2 separate regions of the Homo sapiens genome follow, and region 2 is linked to region 1. The links are contacts of gene promoters, found by promoter capture Hi-C in blood cells and fetal thymus (Javierre and others, 2016). All regions are on one chromosome and are shown on one strand. The core of a region is centred on a gene start or on the middle of the fragment in contact, and the rest is flanking DNA. Distances in the headings are between cores, read along the strand shown.

Region 1 (2,700 bases), core at 20-2,519:
TGGAAACCAGGCTACAATCAATCAATTTTGGAGAGTTTCTGTTAGGAGTAGCCCTCGTGAGATTTATTCAAAAACTGGGCTCTCGGCAGCCTTTGGAAGGGCACTAGGAGTTAGTTATAATGAATTTTAAGTGAATTTTATCTTGGTGAGGGATTTTGATTGACAATAGCATAAAGCCATGTTGTGTGTGTGTGTGTGTGTTTTCTTTTTTTAAGGAACAGGAACAGCTATCAATGGACACTGCTTCATGGGATGCCCAAACAAATATAAACTCTAGATCAGTCAACCTGGGCTCAAATTCCAGCTCTGCCATTTATGGACATGATCATCTTTGAAATGGAAATAATAAAAGAACCTTCCTAATATTGGCATTATGCAAATCGAATGAGTACATGAAATGCATGTGCCTGGTGCTTAGCAGAGTAAGCTCACACTGACTGTCAACTGCTGTTTCCCCAAGGTTATTCTCCTCAAAGGGCCACTTGAGTGATCAGAACAGAATTTCTAGGACATTTTCCCTTTTTATGACGACTGAGACCTGAAAGAGTAAGCAGAGATTCTGTAGTGTTTGTTTTGATGTGAGTTTAACCATCAGCATACAGACTGACTCCCTCAGATCCTTCCAAATAAACTCCTTCATTATCTCATTATTTCAATATTTCATTTCACTGTCTCTCCTCAAATGTAGATTCAAGAAAAGTAGGTTTATTGTGCAGCTACCCTGTGAGCAGATGCCCCAAAGCTGTCATTCCTTCAGGTTAATAATTAACATAACCTGAACGGGGGCATGGTGGCACAGGTCTGTATTCCCAGCTAATTGGGAGGCTAAGGCAGGAGGATTTTAGCCCAGGAATTCAAGGCCAGTGTGGGTAACACAATGAGACCCCATCTCTTAAAAAAAAAAAAAAGAATTCCCATACCTAATATCAAGCACATAAGTCTCTTTAGCTTACAAAAAAGAAAAGAAAAGCTCATTGCATGCATCCATCAACATGGCATGTTGCAGAGCATAATATTCGGAGAATAACGAGGCAAAATACACTTAATAAAACTGCAGGCATATGGTGAGGTTCTCAGACAAGTTATTTATGGTCTTGATTAACCTTGCAACATTATCGCCATTTTCATAGGTTTTACATAACAACATAAAAATATTATCTTTACCTTTTAACATGGCAGGATTATCTTATCTCCGGTTCTTTTATTTAGCCTTCATTTCGCTCCCTCACCCCAAAATCTCTAGCAGCTTGATCATGGAAAAGCAAAGCTGCTTGTGCTCCGTGGTAGTTAATTATATATGAATACTGTTTTCCTGGCACTAGCACATAGCAACAGCGCCACCAAAAGGCCGAGGTCCTGAGTTTCTGGGATCTGTTCCATTTCTTTGCTCCACAGCATATCAGCGTTTTTGCATGATATTCCTGGTTGCTGTGTATTCAAAATATAATATATTGGCATTTCAGACTCCTTATAATTAATAGGTTTTAATTTGTTCTGATCTACAGATTCATTAACTTCTCAGCTCTCTTTGGGTAGAATGAGTTTTCTTTTAATCCTCCTGAACTAAAAAGGTATGCAGTTGATTGTGCTAAGCTGCAGATAAATCATATGAGCAGATGTTCTTATACAACTATAGAAATGATATACGAAAACTGATATTAGAGTCAGTGTAATAGTGACAATAGAGACAGTATCTGTACTGTCAGGAGGAAATATTGAAATGTGCAAGTTGTTCTGTGTTTAGTGACTATGAAAGTCACCCCAGGAAATAAACTTTTCTTATTCTCAGAGTACTGTCTATTACATTTTATGATTGTCCCAAATTTAGTAACGTGGCAAAACTGATTTTTTAAATTGTAAATACATAGTGACATGTCATGAGAATGAAAACAATGAAATTAATTTATGGTAAGGAGATAGTCATATATATTTCAAATAAATGTATTTCTTCAGGGTCACTTTTTTTTCCTGCCACAAACAGAACTGATTTTGTCATTTTGTTATTCAAAAACTTAAATAGTCACCACTCTAGATGCACTCTCGAGCTGGAATAAACACTACAGACTAGTGGTTGAGAGGGTAAGCTGTGGACTCAGACTGCCTGGGTTCACATTCTAGCTCCACTCTTTCCTGGCAGGCACGATCCTGGGTTAATACCCAGTGTCAATTTCCTCTTCTGTTGAATGTAGTTGTTCATCCTATTTATTTCATAGAATTGCTCTGAGGATCAAATAAGATCATATCTACCAAGAATTAGCATAAGTACTCAATAAATGTCAATCGCCGCTATTATGATGATGGTCGTAGTTCATTGTAGATACTGGTTGTCATCCCTTTGCATCTACTTACGATATTCTCTAGGTATGACTGAATGCCAAAATCAAAACAAATTCTATATTATTTCATTGGTGCTTTCACAGGATGCTACCTACCTAGAAATAGGTTTACTGCTACATATGTTTATAAGCATATTGTAGGGGAGGAAAAATATCTTTTTCTCACCCACCCTGGATTCATCGCCAAGGCCTCTGTTGCAACAAAAGACAGATTAGCAAAAGAAAAACATACAAATTTATTTCATGTAAGTTTTCCATGATACAGGAGTCTTTATAAGGAAATGAAGAACTGAACAAACAGTGAAACTTGAATATTTTTACTCCAGGTTTGATGAAGAGAGGAAAGTGGTGGAGAAATATGATT
Region 2 (2,700 bases), core at 167-2,666, 750 kb before region 1:
AAAATAGGCATTAAAACTGCAGCAACCTGGAAAAAATAAAAGCTGAGGTGGGATTTTAAATGACAGCCATAAGGACATGCCTTGTGGTGAAAGATGGTGGTTGGATAAGGAAGGGCTGCTCAGCTGTCTACTAAGGGACGCGGTCTCTGGTTCATTCCTCAAGAGTTTCCATAGGCTGCACAGGACAACAGCTTTCTCATTTAGGCTGGAGTTGAGGATGCTTAAAGTTTTGTTTTTTTCCACAACTACCTGCACTTTGAGGGCAACAAAGTGAGAATGACTCATGAGAGATGGTCCTGTTTGGACCAGAGGCAAAGCAACAACCAGCCCATCTGGGGAAAATTTGTCTCTAGGAGAACAGTGTTTGTGTATTGATAATATAAAATTAGATGACAGCATCCCCTTCTTCTCTTCCCTACCACCAAGGAGGAACTGAACCTTCAGAAATCCACTTGTTTTTTGTTTGTTTGTTTGTTTGAGACGGAGTCTCACTCTGTTGCCCAGGCTGGAGTGCCTTGGAGCAATCTTGACTCACTGCAACCTGTGCCTCCTGGGTTCAAGCGATTCTTTGGCCTCAGCCTCCCAAGTAACTGGGACTACAGATGCATGCCACCATGCCCAGCTAATTTTTGTATTTTTAGTAGAGATGGGGTTTCACCATATTGGGCAGGCTGGTCTCAAACTCCTGACCTCATGATCTACCCACCTTGGCCTCCCAAAGTGCTGGGATTACAGGCGTGAGCCACCATGCCCAGCCAATTTTTGTATTTTTAGTAGAGATGGGGTTTCACCATATTGGCCAGGCTGGTCTCGAACTTCTGACCTCATGATCCACCCTCCTTGGCCTCCCAAAGTGCTGGGATTACAGGTGTGAACCATCACACCCAGCCTCCAGGAATACACTGTTTAAATTTCTCTTTCACAAGTGATGCCCTGGTTAAATCCCTTCATCACATTTTGCATCTCTTCTTCAGATGAGTTTCCCAAGAGAAGAGCTCAGTCTCCCTCCCTGGTTACTCAACTAATGTCTAAAATGTCACTGGTCCTCACTATTTATTAAATGACTGAATTGCCAGATTATCAAAATCCATACATACTACCAGAGAAGTCTCTCTGGCTGTTACGAAAAGATTGGTTTCTCCTAAATCAACAGTCACTGAGAACCAACCATTCATTGAATAACTCATTCACTTCACAACTGTATATCTAGCAAGGATCTTAGTAAGTGCCAGACCCCTTGCAAGATTTTCCAGACACAGCAGCAAATAAAACAGACAAGATTCTGGCTCCCAGGGAGTTGATAGTAGGTAAGACCAGGGATCATCACACATTTCTATAAAGAGCCAGAGCATAAATATTTAAGGCTTTGCAGGCCACTTGCAGTCTCTGAAGCATATTTTCTTTGTATTTTTTGTATGCTTGTTTTTAACAACACTAAAAAATATAAAAAACCATTCTCATATCAAGGGTCTTTCAAAAATAGACCACAGGCCAAATTTGGCCCATTAGCCCTAGTTCGTCAACACTTGTTTAAGACAGACATTAAACAAATGCCCTGAGGATGACATCAGTACAGGTGAGATAAGCACGTAGGAGAGTGAGAGAGGAAAAAAAGGCTGCGTACATACGGCCAAGATTTTGGAGGGGTCAGGGAAGGCCACCAGGAAGGAGAAGCATTCAAAATATGATGTGATGGAGGAGCAGGGCTAACTCAGCAAAGAATGAGGAGCGTGAGGGAGGAGGGCGAGGGGGCTGAATGAAGGGAGAGGGGCTACAGGTAAAGGCTTTGAGCAGCACAGCTGAGCGGGATCCAGATAAAAAAGCCTTGTCAACTGTATCAGGAGCTTGGATTTTACCTTAGGTACAACGGAAGCCTTGTAAGGGTGGGTTTTAAGGAGAAGAGTGCCTGGATCTCCATGAAATTGAAGGAACTCTTCTGGCTGCTGGGCAGGTTCTACTCTGAGAAAGTAAGAGGCTAGTCCACTGTAGCCTTGTGCTATGGGTTCGATTGTGTCCCCTCCTCCCCCGCCAAAATGTGTTGAAGCCCTAACCCCCTACTCCTTGGAATGTGACCTTATTTGGAAATAGGGTCCATTACAGATATAATTTGTTAAGATGAGGTCATACTGGAGTAGGGTCCAACAAATGCCTGGTGTCCTTATAAAAAGGCAGGCATGTGAAGACAGGCACACAGGGACAACCCCAGATGGCATAAAGGCAGAGTGTGGCGTGCTGCAGCTGCAAGCCAAGTAAGGCCAAGTAAGGCCAGAGACCTCCAGAAGCCAGGAAGAGGCAAGGAAGGACACCCTTGCAGGTTTCAGAGGGAGCCTGGCCCTACTGACCATTTGATTTTCAGATTTCTAGCCTCCAGAATGGTGAGATAATATAATCCTGTTGCTTTAAGTCACCCAATTTGTGGTGCTTCCTTCCAGCAGCCCTAGGAAATAAATACACCTAATGGGTGACAATGACTAGGAAAGAAGGAAAGAAATGCACTGCTTTGAAAAACATTTTAAAGATAGAATTAAAGAGCTTTGAGATGGGTTGGATGTAGGGAAGTGGGGAAAAGGAAATGTATAGGCTGGCAATCCACACCCAGCTACTGCCCTTGGTTACCTGTGGAAGGGCAGCAGTGATTAGAGGGAAGGAAGAAACAGCGAGCATTTCCTTATAAAATACACCACTCCATCCTTTGTCTTC

Evidence for each region. Contacts are between HindIII fragments. The CHiCAGO score rates a contact against its expected background, and 5 or more counts as called.
Region 2: a fragment that was not itself captured here is called in contact with the fragment with the promoter of CFAP20DC-AS1 in region 1 in 1 of 17 cell types (naive B cells); the score reaches 5.1 in naive B cells.

Annotation. Positions count from the first base shown.
Region 1 is chr3:58,823,040-58,825,739 of GRCh38, reverse strand. CFAP20DC-AS1 (CFAP20DC antisense RNA 1) reads right to left here and starts at 1,269. Exons shown (of 3, transcript NR_110820.1): 1 at 1,165-1,269. The region is part of intron 14 of CFAP20DC (CFAP20 domain containing); the gene reads left to right. The HindIII fragment of the contact is 7,858 bases long and covers 1-2,700 here.
Region 2 is chr3:59,569,556-59,572,255 of GRCh38, reverse strand. The region is part of intron 6 of CFAP20DC-DT (CFAP20DC divergent transcript); the gene reads right to left. Among named protein-coding and RNA genes, the nearest start is that of CFAP20DC-DT, 480 kb to the right of the region's middle. The HindIII fragment of the contact is 3,038 bases long and covers 1-2,700 here.